6 separate regions of the Homo sapiens genome follow, and regions 1, 2, 4, 5 and 6 are each linked to region 3. The links are contacts of gene promoters, found by promoter capture Hi-C in blood cells and fetal thymus (Javierre and others, 2016). All regions are on one chromosome and are shown on one strand. The core of a region is centred on a gene start or on the middle of the fragment in contact, and the rest is flanking DNA. Distances in the headings are between cores, read along the strand shown.

The links. Contacts are between HindIII fragments. The CHiCAGO score rates a contact against its expected background, and 5 or more counts as called.
Region 1: a contact is called between a fragment that was not itself captured here and the fragment with the promoter of BFSP2 in region 3, in 1 of 17 cell types (megakaryocytes). The highest score is 6.3, in megakaryocytes.
Region 2: a contact is called between a fragment that was not itself captured here and the fragment with the promoter of BFSP2 in region 3, in 1 of 17 cell types (megakaryocytes). The highest score is 8.4, in megakaryocytes.
Region 4: a contact is called between a fragment that was not itself captured here and the fragment with the promoter of BFSP2 in region 3, in 2 of 17 cell types (erythroblasts and endothelial precursors). The highest score is 5.8, in erythroblasts.
Region 5: a fragment that was not itself captured here is called in contact with the fragment with the promoter of BFSP2 in region 3 in 2 of 17 cell types (megakaryocytes and M2 macrophages); the score reaches 5.3 in megakaryocytes.
Region 6: a fragment that was not itself captured here is called in contact with the fragment with the promoter of BFSP2 in region 3 in 4 of 17 cell types (endothelial precursors, M1 macrophages, erythroblasts and 1 more); the score reaches 7.7 in endothelial precursors.

The regions. Positions count from the first base shown.
Region 1 is chr3:132,866,795-132,869,980 of GRCh38, forward strand. The region is part of intron 10 of NPHP3-AS1 (NPHP3 antisense RNA 1); the gene reads left to right. Among named protein-coding and RNA genes, the nearest start is that of NPHP3-ACAD11, 150 kb to the left of the region's middle. The HindIII fragment of the contact is 750 bases long and covers 1,495-2,244 here.
Region 2 is chr3:132,838,727-132,841,895 of GRCh38, forward strand. The region is part of intron 9 of NPHP3-AS1 (NPHP3 antisense RNA 1); the gene reads left to right. Among named protein-coding and RNA genes, the nearest start is that of NPHP3-ACAD11, 120 kb to the left of the region's middle. The HindIII fragment of the contact is 1,521 bases long and covers 873-2,393 here.
Region 3 is chr3:133,398,103-133,401,445 of GRCh38, forward strand. BFSP2 (beaded filament structural protein 2) reads left to right here and starts at 1,954. Exons shown (of 7, transcript NM_003571.4): 1 at 1,954-2,470. The coding sequence starts at 1,982. The HindIII fragment of the contact is 8,153 bases long and covers 1-3,343 here.
Region 4 is chr3:132,821,380-132,824,844 of GRCh38, forward strand. All of the region lies in intron 8 of NPHP3-AS1 (NPHP3 antisense RNA 1), which reads left to right. Among named protein-coding and RNA genes, the nearest start is that of NPHP3-ACAD11, 100 kb to the left of the region's middle. The HindIII fragment of the contact is 821 bases long and covers 1,639-2,459 here.
Region 5 is chr3:132,804,564-132,808,090 of GRCh38, forward strand. All of the region lies in intron 5 of NPHP3-AS1 (NPHP3 antisense RNA 1), which reads left to right. It overlaps LOC105374115 (a long non-coding RNA gene), which reads right to left and starts at 152. Exons shown (of 3, transcript XR_924500.3): 1 at 1-152. The HindIII fragment of the contact is 1,096 bases long and covers 1,380-2,475 here.
Region 6 is chr3:132,787,506-132,790,737 of GRCh38, forward strand. All of the region lies in intron 3 of NPHP3-AS1 (NPHP3 antisense RNA 1), which reads left to right. All of the region lies in intron 2 of LOC105374115 (a long non-coding RNA gene), which reads right to left. Among named protein-coding and RNA genes, the nearest start is that of NPHP3-ACAD11, 67 kb to the left of the region's middle. The HindIII fragment of the contact is 1,458 bases long and covers 1,104-2,561 here.

The DNA.
Region 1 (3,186 bases), core at 620-3,119, 530 kb before region 3:
AGACAATGCTTCACCACTGAGGCCCTAGATCTCTACTCCATGTTTCTCCTATTAAAGTATATCTTCTTTGTGTTCCATTCGCTCTCAGCTGGTCTACTAGAACACTTTCCGATGTGTGAACCTCTTCTAAGAATGAACTGTTGACTTTTGAATGTATGAGATTAGACCATACCAGTAGACACAATGCAACTAGTTAGCTCAATTATTGCAGAGTCTCATGATCAGCCTTGATTGAGTGTTTGATAAATCTTAATGATAAGCAGTAGTGTCATGCAAAGACCAACTGAATTCTCAGACTTTTTTGACATCCAGCAAGAAACAAGATATTTGGTAAAATTGTGTAGTTGGAGGAATGTCATGACTCTGATCTTGGCAAGTGTCTGTGACTTATCATTTCTCTTAGGAACTAAGCAGGGATATTTAAAAATATATCACCTATTGTTAATTTCTGACTCTAACACATTTTCACTGTAGAAAATTGGGACATACAAGAAGGAATAAAGAAGAAAATAAAAACTAGCCATATTTCTACTACCCAGATATAATCACTGTTAACCTTTTGTTTCATTTCAGCTAAATAAAGTATAAAAATATTTTACAAAACATTTAGATAATTGTGTATACATATGTGTATATGTTTTTATATATGTATACATACACACATACATATTATTGGGTGTGTGTGTGCGTGCATGCGTGTGTGTGTGCACATATGTATAGTTTTGTTTCTAAGCAGGAAATTTTCAAAGGACTAGTTAAACTTTTGTCCTACTTCTTCTGTCTGAAAGTAGATTACGTCAACAAATGAGATTAAACTCTTCCTGATTTGTCTTGCCTTCCAGTGGGAGAATGTTATTTTTAAACCAGAAAGCAACTGGGATACTTAAATAATGATAACAACAACAAACAAGAAGGTCAATCTTCAGACCTTCATATAAGCTCCACCGTATCTCTGGATGCATACAAATTACTCAAGGGCTGTGGTCATGTTTAAAAAACGATTTAAGGTTTATGACCAGCCTGGGCAAAATAGTAAAACTCTGTCTCTACAGAAAATTTTTTAAAACATTAGCCAGGCATGGTGGTGCATGCCTGTAGTCCTAGCTACTAGGGAGGCTGAGGCAGGAGGATTGCTTGAGCCCATGAGTGCCTGGAGACAGAGCAAGACCCCATCTCTAAAAAAATAATAACAACAATTTAAGCAACAATTTCTTCTCTGGGAGCATTTAAAAATTGGTTGGGAAGAATGATTCACACATTTAAAAATTGGTTGAGAAGAATGATTCACACATATTGAGCAATTTGAGAGTAGTAGAAGATGGTTTATGTTTAGGTGGTGAAGAGATGTGAGGTTCAATGACCACAAGTATTTCAAGGGTTCCTGGAGAAAGTGGAGTTTGAGATAAGCTTTGGGTTATAGATACAAAAGAAAAAGGGAGGGACTTTTTCCACTTCTTTAACTGCAGCATGGACAAATGCTTGGGAGCAGGAATAAGCTTGACATTGGAAAAGGCGTGGCTCTAAGCATATGAGCTAGAGTCAGGCAGACATAGGTCTGAGTCTGTCTCTGCTACTTGTTAGACTGATGGCCTTGGCACTTCTCTCTATCCTTTCCTAGGCCTCCGATTCTTTATCTCAAAGTAGGGGAAAGTAGCATCTGCCTCAATGGACTATTTTGAATATTGAGTGGGAAATGTGTATAAAGTGCTTAGCACAGTACTTTATGCATGTGATTGTTAATACTGAATGTCAACTTGACTGGATTGAAGGATACAAAGTATTGATTCCAGGTGTGTCTGTGAGGGTGTTGCCAAAGGAGATTAACTGTTTGAGTCAGTGGGCTGGGAAAAGGTGCCTACTCTTACTCTGGGTGGGCACAATCTAATCAGCTGCTAGCATGGCTAGAATATAAGCAAGCAGAAAAATGGGAAAAGTGAGACTGGCCTAGCCTCCCAGCCTACATGGGCTAGTAATGGAAGGCCCGTGTGTATATATATATATATATATATATTCCATTAGTTCTGTCCCTCTAGAGAACCCTAATACAATACTCTCTCTATATATATGTACATTCCATTAGTTTTGTCCCTCTAGAGAACCCTAACTAATACAATGTATAAGAAGCATTAAAAAACTACTGACCAATAATGGTGATAAATAATCATCAAAAATGGCAACTGGTTCATGAGGTGACCTAGAAATGTGGCAATCTATGAGACGCTAGTAGCTTGGTATTCCAGGAAAAGCTTCTAGAATTCAAAAACAGGAAGTAATAAAGATTTCAGACAGAAGGCCACGCCTCATATATATCCAGTGTTTCAATCATGTTACACATAGGTCTCAAATCTGTTCACCTGCTCAGGAAGGCTCTGAGGTGTTCTGCTGATGGGAAACCATCTGGAGTCTTTCAGGGGAAGGCTGCCCGCACCCATTTTCTGTTGGTCTAGTGCAAGGATTGACAGATTTTGTTCTTTTTTTCTGTGAAGGACCAGACAGTAAATATTTTAGGTTTTGTGGGCCATACAGTCTGTGTTACAGCTCCTCAATCCTGACATTGTAGTGTGAAAGCAATAGACAATATATAAGTGCCTGGGTGTGGTTATGTTCCAGTAAAACTTTATTTATAAAACCAGGTGGCAGATTTGCCCTTATGGGCTATACTTTGCCCACTCCTGGTCTAGAGTTTAACTCTCAGAAGACAATCTGAATTTTTAGTAGGTATGAATTTGTTCCGCAACACCTAGATTCAAAATACATCATAATATTTTCTTTTTATTTTTTAAAATTAAAATTTCAAATTTAAAAATTTAAATTATAAAACAATTCAAACATCTTTACATTTTTCTAAATAAAAATTATTCTTGCTTGGGCCATACTCCCCATGGATGGTTACAAATTCAACTTAGTAACGTTTTCAGGACAAACCCCTACTCTCCCTGGGGTCATATTGATAACCTATAGCATTTACATGACTGTAGGGGAGGAATGAGGACTTGACTCTCTTCTTGGTGGTCACCTTTGTTACTGTTACCTGAAATCCATGACTGCTTCTTCCACGATGCTCTAACATAGGACTCTTCTTGCAGACTGAAGCTCTGTCATGTCTCTTTTCGTGTTAGGCACTTAGTGCCCCGGACCCAAGGACATCCCTCAACCATCCTCCCTCTGAGGTATGGGTTTATCTGC
Region 2 (3,169 bases), core at 383-2,882, 560 kb before region 3:
AATGCGATGGCACAGCTGAGTAGTTGCAACAAAGATTATGTGGCCCACAAGCCTAAAATATTTACTCTTTAATCCTTTACAGAAAAAGTTTGCTAATTATTAGCTCTCTATACCTTTCCTTCAAAATCCTAATACAATTTGTAATTATCTGTCATGTGATTATTTTATTAATGTTAATCTCTCACACTATTCTTTAAGCTCCATGAGGGTAAAACCATGTCTATTATTTTCACTATTATATTCCCAGAACCTAAAATAATGTTGGCATATAGGTATTCAATGTATGTTTGTTAATTAAATAATTAGATTATCTAAAATGGTAACTTTGGAGCAAATAGTACCTCTGGGGTAAATCTGCATTTCAGTTTAAACTTGTGAGGTATAATGGTAAAGTCCAGGTGGCATAATACACAAAGTGCTCAGCATAATGCTTACAAACTAGAATGGGCTGAATAAATGACACCTTTTATTAATTGAGATCCTCCAAATCTCCTGTTTAAACCATTGTGGTGGCTTTGCCATCAGGGAACAGCCTTATAAATGCATGAAAATATTAGGAAGAACATTCACTCTAGAGAACACATTTAGCAAGCACCTACTTTGTGCCTGGTGAATCCACTTTTCTTATTTCATGGCTTCTGAGTCTTACCAGTCTGTCTAATGTCTATAAGACCTTGCTAATCATGTATCTTCCAGAAAAGAAGATCAGTGGAGAAGTCAGCAGCCTTGCCAAGGCATGTGTCAGTTCTTCATGTATTTGCTTGTTAACCAGGACCGTGCATTGGAATTGCCTGGAGAACTATTTACAAACACTGGGGTCTGGACTTCATCCTCAAAGATTCTGGTCTGATTGGTCTAGGGTAGTATTTTTAAGCTTCTCGGGTTATTCTAACATGCAGCCAGGTGTGAGATTGTCAGTTTTATCAGTTAGGAGGTACGTGGCGGGGCCCAGTGGCTCACATGTGTAATCCTATCACTTTGGGAGGCCAAGACAGGGCACAGTGGTTTGCATCTATAATCTCAGCACTTTGGAAGGCTGAGACAGGGGGTCACTAGAGATCGGGAGTTCAAGACCAGCCTGACCAACAGAGCAAGACCCCCATCTCTACCAAAATAATAATAATAATAATAATAATAATAATAATAATAATAATTATTATTATTATTTAGCCATGCATGGTGGCACACTCCTGTAGTCTCACGACTTGGGAGGCTGAGGCAGGAGGATCGTTTGAGTCCAGGAGTTAAATACCACAGTGAGCTGTGATTGCACCACTGTACTCCAGCCTGGGCAACAGAGTGAGATTCTGTCTTTAAAAAAACAAAAACAAAGAAACAAAAAGAGGTACTCCATGAATATGTGATCTGAGAGACTGAAGATACAGACAATGGCTAGACCACACAGATATGACAATACAACTTTGACCCACAACCTCTGTAGCAACTGGCCTAGAAGGAAACTTTCCTATTTTTGTCCCCACTTTTCCAACTTAGGACCAGCAGAGAAAGTCAAGTATGTTCCCCAAGCAAATCATAGAAGATGTCCCACTTCTAGTTAGCCCACCTCTAGTATCTCCATGCTAACAACCTCCAATCAGGACACACGTGAAGCCTTCCATTCTTTTCACAATAAAGCCTTTCTATTCCCCTGCCTGCCTTTGAAACTCTGCCCAAAACAAGTGACAGTGGCTGACTCCCTTGTTATACCAAACTGAATAAATAGCCTCTTTCTTTTCATTTGGGTGGTTTTAGTCTATTTCCACAGTGCCACTGTTCTTGTTACTGTACAATTGCACATATAAATAACATACTTCTTCAGCATCTCTTAAAACAAGCAGAATCAAATAACAGAGACCTACTGGGATTAGCCTAGGTAAAAGCCCGATCAAATATAAGGATTCGAGGGTGTCTCAGACAACCCAAGAGCAGGGTACAGTTGAGTCTCAGGAATCCAGAAAAGGAAGGTTGTAGGGAACCAGAACATTTTCTCTCTTTGTCTCATGTCTCCATTTTTCTCCATGCATCTGCTCCATTTTTTCTTGGTATAGACCACCTGTCTCTATTTTTCAGCACACATGACACAATAGTCACAGCCAGCAGCTCCCAGGTTTGCATACATTTCCTCAATTAAAGACAGGAGAGCTAGACCAACTGGAATCTCCTACTTGCAATTCCAAATCCCTAAGGAAGGATCTGCCTGGCCCATGATGGAGGGGTTCCTTTTCCTGATACCCCTCTACTATGTGGATTGCTAGGAGGAGGTCAGTTCCCACAGGAAACAGGAAAGGTGGCTGAGGAGCACACATTAGTAATAAAACTTTAATAATAAAAAAGCCATGTAATTTAAATTCTAAACTTGTACCAAACCTAGTGATTTTTGTCTCTTCTGGTGAAGCTTACCTTGTATAACTTGTAGCTGCATCTCCACTTTCAGGTATCTTGGGATCATTTTAACATTTTTAAGAAAAATTGTCCTTGAGACCATGATGCCTCATGGGACCCTTAAGTATACCTCTCTACTTTATAAGCTTAGCCCATAGCCATGTGACAGCTGCATCCATGTCCCCACCATCTCCCAGTGTCCTGTAGAAGTACACTTCACCTATTACTGATGAGGGGCACCCATGCCCAAACAACTGCTATAGTCCTTGCTATCCTTTTTTGGGGGACCTTTGATCTTCTTGCCCAGAAGACCTAGAGTTAGGACTGCTATCTTGAGCACCCTAACTTCCTATTGTATTTATCTCCACTCATCCAAAGTGATGTTGTTGTCCCTCACTCCACCAATCCACAGGAACACAGAGACAGCAAGGAGGTACTAGGGATAGAGGAAGAGAGAATTTCTTGAAGTGGAATTACCTCAGAGCCATCCATTTCTAATTAACTCAGACACTAAATTCTGGGCAACACAAGGAGGCAATTAAGCATAAGTGTATGCCATTTGCTTTGTAGGTGAATATAAATTGCATAGGCTAGAGGTTTAAGACATTGTGCTCAAGCCAAAACTAGGGCATACTGTGCTTCTCCCAACAAATCACATACATAAGTACAGAGGAGCCACAGGATTAAGTCTGGAATTTATATTTTCAAAGGAAGCTTTGAGAAAAACACTGCTTCAAACATTCCAGCCACTATCACCATGGAGCTCTGCACCAAGTCTTGATATCAA
Region 3 (3,343 bases), core at 704-3,203:
AAGTTAACCTGGCCATTGAGTGTTACCATTCTGTAGAGAATAACAATGCCTAAACATGACACATTTGTGCACAACTTAATCAGTAGCCTGAACTTTTCATTCAGCCTTGGACAATACATCTTGGAATTCACAATAATGCAGATCCTCAGAACCAAGTCAGTGTCATCCGTATAGGAGGCTGTTACTGTAACACAGGCTCGCATGCCCCTTCTGGGTGCATCAGGGGTGGTGTTCACAGCATTAATGCTACATCTGAATAAACAAGGACACTACTGGCCTTTACTTAATCCAATTGGTTCTTTCATCTGTTCATCAAATAGCCAACACTGATATTTATAAAATACCTCCCAGGCCATCTCAGAGAGACAAAGTGGAAGACAATAAAGAAAGGAAGGGTTGGAGTGTCCTGGTCAGTAGGAAGGAAGTGCACACAGGGTCCTCTAGTAGGCGACCAGGTTTTTTACCTCTACCTGCGTGACCTCAGGTAGGTACTCTGCTCTCTGGGTGGTGGGCAACAGGGAGGCTCCTAAGTAAGTCAGTGGCCCAGAGTTTGGAAGAGGTTGTCTGCCCCCAGCTCTGCTACTTTCTGGACATAGAACCTTGGGCAAGTCATTGCAGCTCTCGGGGTCCTCCTCACATAAGAGGACAGTGGCCAACTGTAGGACATGTCATTTTAGAGCTGTGAGGTACACAGCCCATATGGCAGTACCTGTCAACCCTGGACCTCCTTCCTCCTGAGGTTGAGTTGAGAATTCCACGAAATAAACCATAGGATTCATGCACACACCAGGCTGGATCTGCTACTCACTAGAGATTGACTCCCTTCTCCTTCTCTCACCTGAGGTACATTCCTACATTACAGCATCTGGAAAAGTATCCAGCTCTGGGGTTTGGTGACCTGGTTTCTCCAGGGTAAAACTTATGTACAGAGGTTTTTAGGTCCATGTTGTCATCCTGTAACTGGGGGAACCTTTCTGATCCTAGAGAAGTGATTGAGGTGTGACCCTTGGTGGCTTAGTGGATGCCAAGGTCAATAATTAAAACCCAGGGGTGTCATCATATCCTAACTTGGGGCACCCTTGGAGAGGCTTACCAGAAAACACCCTCGTTGTTGTTTTTATTTCTCAGTTTTCCAACAGATGGAGAAGCAGAGGTGTAGGGAATGGCCGGAACATGTGTGGGATCTGAATTTGCCCAAGGTCCTTATCTGGTGCATCAGAGAGTTAAAGGCCCAAGCCAATGTTCAGACAGTGAGGTCCAGAGGGAGGAAGCATCCTGGCCAACAGCAAGCAGCTGATGAACAGCAGAGCATTAGAGGACAGAGATGAGGAGGAAAGGAGAGAGGTGAGGGAAGGACCTGAAGCTGCTGCCAGGACTGAGAGAGGAAACCATAGGCAAGTCTTTTCTCTTGGGTCCCTGGAGCTGCCTCCTGCCATTTTTCATCCTCTATTGCCTGTGTGGACATGTGTTCACATTCACATGTGCCAGCACACATAGGGATGTAGAAAGCCCTGAAATAGCTAGATTGAGTCCTAGCTTGTAATCTGAGGTCTGGGGCAAGTGATCAGTACACTTGTCATCTGAGGTCCTTGAGCCTCAGTTTACTCATCTGTAAAATGGGGTTGCTTGATGCCTGCCTTGCCCACTTAGGTAGTAAAATGCACAAACCCAAATGGTCTACCTCCACAGCCTGCACTGATCCAGCCTCCCCCACCACCAGCAGAATAATCTGGGAGGTTGGGCACATGACCCTGCATCAAAGAATGCATGAGTGCCTCTCTGCACACAGCCCTGGGCAGTGCCCATTTCTCTTTCAGCTCAGTGAATGATGGAAACTCATGGAAGACAGCAGACAAAGCAGCCCCAGGGATAGGGGAGATTCCAGAGAGGCCCGTGACCAGGCCACAGGGATGCTGGGGCTGTAAACCAAAAGCCACTGGACTCTGTAAACCCACTGGGCACCACAGAGGCAGAAGGGGTGATGAGTGAGAGGCGAGTGGTAGTGGACTTGCCCACCAGTGCCAGCTCCAGCATGCCCCTCCAGAGGCGCAGGGCGTCCTTCAGGGGGCCACGGTCATCATCCTCCCTGGAGAGCCCCCCAGCCTCCAGGACCAATGCCATGAGTGGCCTTGTCCGAGCACCCGGGGTCTATGTAGGAACAGCACCCAGTGGGTGCATAGGTGGCTTGGGTGCCCGTGTGACCCGCCGGGCCCTCGGCATCAGCAGTGTCTTCCTTCAGGGCCTGCGGAGCTCAGGCCTGGCCACCGTGCCGGCTCCAGGTTTGGAGAGGGACCATGGTGCTGTTGAGGACCTAGGGGGCTGCCTGGTGGAATATATGGCCAAAGTGCACGCCCTTGAGCAAGTCAGTCAGGAGCTGGAAACACAACTGCGGATGCACCTGGAGAGCAAAGCCACACGCTCGGGAAACTGGGGTGCCCTACGGGCTTCCTGGGCCAGCAGCTGCCAGCAGGTAAGTGTCCAGGCTGTGCCAAGGGCTTTGCAGAGGGCTGGGAGGGGCTGCTGAAGGCAGCGGGTAGGGTTGTGAGTAGGCTGAGGCCAGAGAAACTGACCATAATCCCCTACACTTTCACACTTAAAATGGTAATGATAACAACAATGCTACCTTTTACCGAGGTTTACTAGGAGCCCACGCTAGCCCCCATACGTGCACTACCCACTGTCTTCTTTAAACTTCAAAGAAATGCTATGCAGTGGATCATTCACTGATTGCATTTTTCAGATGAGAAACTGAGGCATGTAATTTGCCCAAGACTTCAAAGCTAGTAGAGGGATGGAGATGAGATTTGAACCTGAATTTTTGTGCCTCCAAAGTTGCATTTGCCCCATTACCCTGGGGCTGCCTCAGTCACCTTTACTGTTGAGAAGGGATTTTTACAGCTATTATCCAATCAAATACCATTGGATGGATGAGGTGTTAAGAACAATGAATAAATGGAGGTGTGTTCCTGTATCCACCTACAACCACGCTGTTCAATAGAAATATGAACTACATTGGTAATTGACAAGTTTCTATTACCCACAGTAAAACACGTAAAAAGAAGCAGGTGAAGTTAATATTATAGCTTATTTAACTCTATATGTCCAGAATGTTATTTCAACATGTAATCAATACAAAATATATTAATGAGGTAATTTACATTCAAGTAGAGCTTTCTGCGTGATGGAAATATTAATATCTTATATCTGCACTGTCCAATCTGGCAGCCACTAGCCATATATGGCTATCAAGCACTTGAAATGTGGCTAATGAGACTGAGGAATTGCATTTTTATTTTATCTAATTTTCATTAATTTAAATGTAAACAGCCACAGGTAGCTAATG
Region 4 (3,465 bases), core at 799-3,298, 580 kb before region 3:
CATCTCATTAGAGGCTGGCCAGGGAACTTAAAATGTGCCAATTGATGGTAACAGTCTCATTTTATATGCATATTCAAGCTCTCAGAGTTTCTTCCCTGGACAACACAGTATCTCGACATAGAGGGCAGCTAATTTATCCTTGTGGCAGACGGGAGAAGAGGGCTTTATGCTCTTGCTGTTCCCTGGATACCCTCCTGGCTTCAACTGCAGAAGTTGATGGCTAGGACTGCTGCTGATTCAGTTCTATCTAGGTTCTCCTAGGCCTTGCTAGGAGAACAGGTCCTCTCCTAGGTCCTCAGCTCTCAAGTCCCACCTAAGCCTTATCCAGTATCCTTGCCCAGGATGTCCACTCCATGGCCCATGTCCACCCCATGGAGTTACTTTTTCAGCCTGGTAATCTTTACTCTCAGCTACAATTTTTGTGCCCCTCATTGGCCTGTGGGCATGTCTGAATCCTGTTTTTATTACCTTCTCTCTATCTTGCATTTCTCTCCTTTCATCGTCCACTCCTGCTGCCTGAGCTAAGGAGCAGAGGGGTGGGAGCACTGGCCCCTTATGAGACCAAGCAAACCCTTCCTCCTACATTCTTTCCTTCTCAATCTTTTTTCCCCTCCAGATAGGGTATGACCTGCCCTCTCTGTTGGGGATACCCCCTAAGGCATTCCCTTCTTCCTGTTCATCTGCAGACATCTTTGTTCTAGGTGGCTCTGCCTCCTTTCCCAAGGCATTAAGCCTCATGGCTTAGTTTTAATAGTGAATATGATTAATGAGGACAATTTTTTTAAAACTTGAGGTTAACTTTTTAAGATAATTACATTAGCATTTATAAAGTACTTTCTCCATGGAAATTCTGCCTACTAGCCTGACATTATTGGCATTTGCTGCCCACTTGGCAGTGAATCTTGTGGCTTCCAGTGTGTGGTCAGCCTGTTGAGGAATGTGGACTCACCTGGGGTAGACGCTCATGGTTCAAGTTGGTGAGTCAACTAGGAGAGCTTTTGGATCACTATATATAAAATATTTGTCTGCAGTGAAATAAGCCAAGAGTTTAGCCTCAAATTCCCATGGGAATCCTATGGGAAATATAATCCTTTCTCTTAGGTCTGCCAGTTGCCTTGTTTTCCTGAACACCATAGCCCAGTTTCCTCTAGGGGCTCATTCACAGAGAGTCATGGCTTATGCCAAGACTAGCAAGGATCAAATGAATAAATGCAAAGATGTACAATTTTTTAAACTTTCTTTTGGTCACATCTTTGTTCTTTATATTGAGGCTTTGAGTGGATTTTGTCTTAAGACAAATTCTCCTTTTTGTATAGGGTACATTGTCTAATTTTGTACCTCTCTTATGGGGTATGCACATAAATATGAGGTCCATGGATCATTTTAAGCCAAACCCATGGGAGTCTTGCTGCTTTTAAGCCTTGAGGATGGTTTGACCTGGAGACTATTAGTTGCTTTTCATGCAAAATAATAATTACTCGAGCTTTTAAATTCTGTTTTTAGTTTGCTGCTGAATATTTTTTAGCCATGTGTGATCTTGTATTTGTTGAACCCAAGATACTCTTTCAAGTCCCCACCAAACAATCAAATTATATTTCAGAAATATGCCATCTGTCTTTGTCACTCTCAGATGCTGAAAGCTTGTGCTAGATGAGAGCTGCTACATTTTTCTCTGGTGGCAGGGATGATACAGAGAAAACTATTCTTCCCTCTTTAGTTAACACAGTGATGATGGGTGCATGTTTGCGAGCAGAGGTATGGCATTTTTGACATAAGATAAATTCCTAACAGCTGTCTTGAAATGAATCTCTTGATTCATTTCAACCTTATTTGTTTATATTGAACAACTTTGTCTATTTCTCAGGTTTACTTCTTAACCAAGCTACTTTTATGACTACTAGTTCTTGCAGAACTGAATCTGCTTCATGCAGGTACAATTAGACTGAGACTTGTTATGCACTCATGCCATGGCCATATACCTCTAGTTTCACGCCTTATGGCTTGCTGGTGCCACAGACATGGAATTCTGCTCCATAATTACAGATATTCAAATTTCTAAAACTTTAGGGGAGTAAATCCTTGAGTGGGAGAAAGGAGGAGACAGATAAATCCTTCCCTCTTTTGTCCCCAGGATGGACGCTTCTGAGATGCAGGTCACCAGACTCTGGCACATCCTGGTAGACCAAGCACTGGCTGCTCATAGTAGTGGCCAACTCAGTAATACATCCCTGTATCAGCTTTGCCTTCTTCCTATTTTGCTTTCCCTGTCCTGTACACTTGCTTCCTGGGAAGCATATTCCAAAATAAACTATCTGGAAGGAAGTTTTTGCCTCAGGCTCTGCTTTGGGGGAATCCAGGCTAAGATAGAATTCTTCCTCATAAAATAGGAGCTAGCATTTTCTCTTGTTTCATATCATTTCTTACTAAAGTGTACCAATAGAGAGTCAAACATAAAGAGAAGCTTTTCTCAGTTTGGTGAAGGTGTGCGTGTGTATGTATATATCTGAGCATATAACTGCATTACAAAGCTAGTTCTAGTAATTATTTAGTTATCCACATAAAAAGACAGACAGATTACCTAAAAATAATGTATTTTTGATATTGAGATACACCCACTCCCATATTTACTGACAGTCAAAACTCTTCTCTTCTATTCCTAGCTCCAAGTTTCTTCCAACTTGATACTTCTTTTATAACCTAGAATCCTGTGGTATGATGGTGGGGAAGAGATCTTGGGAAGTCCACAAAGCAAATAAACTAGTTTAAGAGTTAAATTGTAATTATCTGCTGCTTGACATAATTCACATTTTATTCCCATCAAATAATTAAGGATTGATTGAATTGATAATGATGATATAATATGATTTCTTTTTACTTTAAAAACCTGTTCAGTTTGAAACATTGTCAAAATGGCTATCAGGAGAATTTAGGGGGTTAAAAGAGAAGGGGGTTAGAAAAACACCTTCTTAAGTGAAGCTGGCCCCCCTCCAAATTCTAGTGTCTCATGATCATGGAGAGGAATTCTGATGACCATTTCCATAATCAATGTCTTGAGGAGGAATTTATTTTTTAGCCCGGGAAGATAGGATCCTATCAGAATCTCAAAGGTATGAGAATGTTACAAGAGAGCTTTGGAAAAGGGGTGTCCCTAAAATTTGGCCACCCATCAGGGATGCAGAAATTGGGTTTCAACTCATTTGATAGCATGCTTCAAATTATTTTTATCCTATTATTGCTCCTTTCTTTGTAACCAGTAGATACCATGTGGATTCTGGCTTCTTTATCCTTTTGCAAGCACAGGCAAAAATTAGAGAAAACTCGGAATTACCCCTTTTCTTGTGGTTGCGTTATATGAGTAATTATCCATCATGAAATCCCTTCAACCTTCTGTTCAGTTTTGATCACTTTATTTCCTTTGGTGAATCATAAGAACCATGATTGCACATATGTTCTTTTTTAAATCTT
Region 5 (3,527 bases), core at 678-3,177, 590 kb before region 3:
GGTCACAATAGATCAGAGGCAAGAATTCTTGTTGTCTAAATCATAATATAGGACTCTGTTATTTCCACTGAAATGTTTCTGTTTTGTGAGTTTTTTTCCAGTGAATTTTGAAATCCTGAGCCACATTCTGTCTCACATTCCTGGCCACATTCCACACTGCCCAGCTGAAATATGCTCAAACTTGCTGGGTGCTTTTATGATTTACCTAGTGGTGATTTCCAGAGTCAAAGCCAAACCACTCATTAAAAGCAGCCACTATTTTGGAAAGCCCACATGATTGTTCCCCTTCATTAGAATGAATAATCAAGAGCTAGCACTGAGCATATTTGTTGCCCTAGAATGTGCTTTGCTGCCTCTCTGTGACCCAGAGAATCTAGAAAATACTTATGCTGCAGCCCAGCATTTGAGGTATGTTTCCCTTCCCATAGTTCCCATGGACTCTCCATTGGGTCAAACCTTTTGGAGGTATTTCTGATTCTATTTCATCCTGAACATTTGCCACTTGATGAGCAGTGTAGGGAAGAAACTGGAAAACAGAGAGTAAAGAAATCTATCTGAAAAGTGGTCTCAATACCCTGGGTCTTGGTTCTTCACCCCTGGGGCTGTCATCCTTACCTGTGGCATGGAGTTCTCAGCATATGCCTATTCCTCAGGCTGATAGCTAGTTTTGGGTGGGGAATGCAGTTTGAGAAGGTACTAGTCTGGAGGGAGGGGGTGTAGGAGGAGAGTTCATATTTAAAATTCCTTCTCTTGAGGAATTCAATTTCAAAAAGCCCAGAGTTCTGCTATATATTGGCAGAATACAATTAGTTGGCTTGGCTAATGTTGGGTCAGGACTGCCCTTTTAACAGAACACCGTTCTCCAAAGACAGCCTTTAGCATTCTTTGACAAAGATCTTTAAGGAAATCACTTTCATCTTGATTTTTTTTATTAGTTAACATGCAGCGAAAACTTAACCGTTGGTTTACATCTGTAGATTCTACTAAAAATTCAATCTGTTATCCACATCAGATCACATGTCTCTAAGAGAGAGGTTCTTTGCCCTGGCTGCACATTGAATCACCTGGGGAACTTAAAAAACTTCCAACGTCCTGGCCACACCTCAGAGCAATTAAATCAGACCCTCTGGAAATGGGACCCAAGCATCAGTACTTTTTCATTATTTGTTGTTAATTTTTGTAGGGATGGGCTCTTGCTATGTTGCCCAGGCTGATCTCAAACTCCTGACCTCAAGTGATCCTCCTGCCTCAGCCTCCCAAAGTGCTGGGATTACAAGCATGAGCCACCAAACCCAGCCGGCATTCTGGAGTCCAAGTTGAGAACCACTGCCTAAAAGTTGCTACCTGAAGGCTATAATTTGCCTGAATGCTACACTCTAAGCTTTGCGAGGGCAGAAACTGGTTTGTTTACTCTCACTCATCCTCAATGCCTGTGATACCTCCTGACCCATAGTTGGAGTTTAACGAATATTTATTCATTAAATGAATTAATGCTTGTTCAGAATTTCATTAAGATGTAGATAAAGAAATGCTCTGCCTTTTGCCTGGGAGTGATGTTGGAAATCCTTAATCACTTATACGGCCATGACACTTGATCAGAGTGTTAGAGGCCTCTATGTGCCCTGAAACCTTAAATTATAGGATCATGGGAGGTTTAGTGTCCTGGTGGAGGGGCATCATTGGCCAGAACTGTTGGGACACTTTGGGGAGATCAGCACAATAGCTATTTACCAACTGGAATGAAAGCATTTTAATATTTTAACAATAGGTCCAGCTGTACACAGCGGTGGGAGAGCAGGCTACCATGGTTTACGTTTTGATCCTTCTGCTGTTAACAGGGGATTTCCTAGTCTGAAAGGCTATATGTGTTATAGCTATATGTGTTCTGTTGCTGTCTTACCTCTCAGACTTCACCTTATATCACTCCCCTGACCCTCTTCTCGGCAACACTGGCCTTCTCTGTGTTTCTTCAACACGGCTAAGCTCCTTCTTGCCTTAGGGCCTTTGCTCTTGCTATTCAGTCTGCTGGATTATTTGCCCAATGGGAGGAGCTTCAAAGTCATGTTACAAAGGGCATAGATTCAAAGAAGGGATGGCAGTAGCCATTTCTGTTACTCTACCACGTGGCCCCTTCATGTAAATGCTCAGCATCTCAGATTTCTTCTTCATCCCTCTTTTCCTCTCCAAAATGCTACTTGGGTATAATAAAGAAAAAATGTCACTTGTGTGGCATGATAGTCTCAGAGACAAAAAAAGTGTCCCTTCAGTTTCTCTTGGATCGTCTCTGGTCTTAGCTAGAGAGTGCTTGGTCCCAGCTGCCACTTGCACTTGAGCTTCAGGCTCCATCCCTGGGTGTTCTGTTCATGTTTGGTGCTGATAGTTACGGCTGTTGAAACTTGGATTAGTTATTTTTGTCTTGACTGGGCCTAGATAACTAGGACTCATATCCTTCTCCTTGGCATTGCAGACACTAGAAGCTTTTGCATTTAGGTTTATAATTCAGCTAATGTTCATATTTTTCTTTCTTTTTTTTTTTTTATTATACTCTAAGTTTTAGGGTACATGTGCACATTGTGCAGGTTAGTTACATATGTATACATGTGCCATGCTGGTGCGCTGCACCCACTAATGTGTCATCTAGCATTAGGTATATCTCCCAATGCTATCCCTCCCCCCTCCCCCGACCCCACCACAGTCCCCAGAGTGTGATATTCCCCTTCCTGTGTCCATGTGATCTCATTGTTCAATTCCCACCTATGAGTGAGAATATGCGGTGTTTGGTTTTTTGTTCTTGCGATAGTTTACTGAGAATGATGGTTTCCAATTTCATCCATGTCCCTACAAAGGATATGAACTCATCATTTTTTATGGCTGCATAGTATTCCATGGTGTATATGTGCCACATTTTCTTAATCCAGTCTATCATTGTTGGACATTTGAGTTGGTTCCAAGTCTTTGCTATTGTGAATAGTGCCACAATAAACATACGTGTGCATGTGTCTTTATAGCAGCATGATTTATACTCATTTGGGTATATACCCAGTAATGGGATGGCTGGGTCAAATGGTATTTCTAGTTCTAGATCCCTGAGGAATCGCCACACTGACTTCCACAATGGTTGAACTAGTTTACAGTCCCACCAACAGTGTAAAAGTGTTCCTATTTCTCCGCAGCCTCTCCAGCACCTGTTGTTTCCTGACTTTTTAATGATTGCCATTCTAACTGGTGTGAGATGATATCTCATAGTGGTTTTGATTTGCATTTCTCTGATGGCCAGTGATGATGAGCATTTCTTCATGTGTTTTTTGGCTGCATAAATGTCTTCTTTTGAGAAGTGTCTGTTCATGTCCTTCGCCCACTTTTTGATGGGGTTGTTTGTTTTTTTCTTGTAAATTTGTTTGAGTTCATTGTAGATTCTGGATATTAGCCCTTTGTCAGATGAGTAGGTTGCGAAAATTTTCTCCCATGTTGTAGGTTGCCTGTTCACTCTGATGGTAGTTTCTTTTGCTGTGCAGAAGCTCTTTAGT
Region 6 (3,232 bases), core at 583-3,082, 610 kb before region 3:
TTTGATGTCCAGTTCATTGAGGGTTTTTATCATGAAGGGATTTTGGATTTTATTGAATGCTTTTTCTGTGTCAATTGAGATGATCATATGGGTTTTGTTTTTAAACTGATCTCTTTTTGCTCACTGCAAGAGTTGCTGTACAAAATCCCCTCTCCTCTCTTTGTGAGACTGTTAATTTCCTTAGGTCTCACCCTTCTTTATATTCTTGGAGTTTGGCACTGTGCCTGACCAAGTGGACATCTCACAAATGTTTGTTGATTCCCTGTTGCTATGGACTGAATGTTTGTGTCTCCCCCAAGTTCATATGTTGAAATCTAATCCCCAGTGTGACAGTATTTGCAGATGGGGCCTTTGAGAGCTAATTAGATCATGAGGGTGGAACCCTGAGGAGTGGAATTAGTTCCCTTATAAGAAAGCTAGCTCACCCTCTTTTCTCCACATGATTTTACAAGGAGAAGCAACCTTGGAAGAGGGCCCTCACTAGCCACCAAATCAGCTGGCACCCTGATCTCAGACTTCCAGTCTGCAAAACTCCGAGAAATAAAAAGTTGTTGTTCAAGCCACTCAGTCTATCATATTTTGTTATGGCACTCCAAGCTGACAAAGACAACTGTGTAGTCCTTCTCTACTTCTATCCTCTTATAAATAAGGGCTTATCTCCTTTCAGCAAAAAATTCTATTGCACAAAGCATTCTTTAAGATGCAGAATTGTTCATAACCCCAGTGAATTTCGTTGAAATATGAGGAGTTAGACACTATTTCCAATTTATTGTGCATAGTCCACTCTGGTTTTTTATATGCTTGGAAGACTAAGCTAATTATCTTTTGGTTGCTGGCAACTTCTCAATAAGATATCTGTCAAGTGTAATACTATCACAAGGCATTTGGCAACATAAGGAAGAGCAAATTATGTAAGAAGGATAAATATTTTCCTCCCTGGGATAAGGAAAGAGTGTGAGGAGAAGAAAATCACATTAGTAGTTTAAATGTTCTTTTCTCATGAGAACATTTAAGAACAATAATGTTGGTTTATACCAGTTAACACTGAGTTCCCAGAGATGATGCAATTCTGTTTCAATGTAGCCTTTCCTCTGACAGCTCAAAGCTTGGCTTAGTCCCAGAACCATTTTCTAGCCTGATGTGACTCCTCAGTTCAGCTCTGAAGAGAAGAGGCTTTCAAAGGTTTTTCATCTTGCATTATGTTTTTAGAAGTTTCGTGTCAAGGTGTCTAGAGGCCCTCATATACCAGATTCTTTAAATAATATTCTTTTGAGTTAATTGCCTTGGAAAATACAGCCAGCCATTAGAATAGGAATATGATATCTTAGTCTATAACAAATGCACCCCATAAATATATACACCTACTGTGTACCCACACAGTCATAGATGGCTGTTATTATTTTGAGGTGTGTATCTGTTCCCCCAAAACTCATATGTTGAAACCCTATCCACAATGTTATGGTATTAGGAGGTAGGGCCTTTGGGAGGTAATTTAAATTAGAAGAGGTCTATGGGGGCTGGGCGCTGTGGCTCACACCTGTAATCCCAGCACTTTGGGAGGCCGAGCGGGTGGATCACAAGGTCAGGAGATCGAGACCATCCTGGCTAACACTGTGAAACCCCGTCTCTACTAAAAATACAAAAAATTAGCCGGGCGTGGTGGCAGGCGCCTGTAGTCCCAGCTACTAGAGAGGCTGAGGCAGGAGAATGGCATGAACCCGGGAGGCAGAGCTTGCAGTGAGCTGAGATCGTGCCACTGCACTCCAGCCTGGGCAACATAGCGAGACTCTGTCTCAAAAAAAAAAGAGGTCTATGGGACTAATGCCCTTATAGGAGTCATTAGAGAGCTTGCTGCTTACTGCTCTCTGCTCTCCACCATAAAAGGATACAGCAAGGATCAGCAGTCTGCAACCCTGAAAAAGGAGCTCACCAGAGTTCCACCATGCTGGCACCCTGGTCTCAGGCATCTAATCTCAGAACTGTGAGAAATAAATTTCTGTTGTTCATTAGCCACCCAGTCTATGGTAGTGTGTGTGTGTGTGTGTGTGTGTGTGTGTGTGTGTGTTTAACTTTAAAAATCTTGTACATGCTTTATTTGTGTTTTTTAATTTTTTAATCATCTTGAAAATGGGAGGATCGCTTACTGTAAAGTGAGTGCCTTATAACCATTGCTGCCTTATTCTAAAAGATAAATCACTATGGATTGCATACAGCTTCAAATAAGAAAAAAAATTTGTAACAGTACATTATAATTTTTATAGGACATTGTTATGGACTGATAACAGATACAGTAAGACAGCTAGCTGAAAGAGGCATAATCCTAGCATCTACTATTATTTAGATAGAATCTATCTATCTATCTATCTATCTATCTATCTATCTGTCATTTTTCTTGAAACAGGGTCTCACTCTGTCACCCATGCTGGAGTACAGTAGCACAATCATGGCTCACTGCAGCCTCGACCTCCCAGGGCTCAAGCGATCCTCCCATCTCAGACGCCTGAGTAGCTGGGAGTACAGGCACATGCCACCATGCCTGGCTAGAATCTGTATACTTTAGAAGCTTTTAGTTCTGGTACGGAGGTGGCAAATAAATGACTTGTCAGACTGTACCCATCTGACATTGCCCTGCTGAGCCCCAAAGCATCTTTGGAATCCTCCATACAGCACGAGACTACATTGGTAGGAGCCTTGACTCAGGAGTCAGGACAGAGCTGGGTTTGAGTAACTACTGTAGTTACGAGAGATATGATCTTGGACAGGGTGCTAATCTCTAAGCCTTAGTGTTAGTAAACAAGGGCAGTTGTACCCATCTCACAGGGCTCTCATAAGCTTAAATGGGAGAACACATACACCTTCCTTAGCACAGGACTCTGGTACAAGCAGCTCTATAATATTAGCTCTTCTTTCTCTTGCTATTGTTATTAATAACTAACAAGATTTGGCAAAAGATAAAATTATTAGAGAACCACTTCCTCCCCCATAGTGCTTAGATCCTGTCTGGGGAAAGTCCTAATTTATTAGGTTTCAAAGTTGCTAGCTAATCAGCCTCTATCCCTTCTGGTACAACATATTTGAGTGAGTACACGGTCACCCACCCAATTGGGCTACAGCTTTCTGACTCAAGCCCAGCTTTCCCCGTAACCTCTATCTCCTCCAGACTTTTCTGCTCAAATGGTGCTGATTCTGACATAGGGGAAGGTACTGTTACTGTTGTTTGCTGCATCCTCTC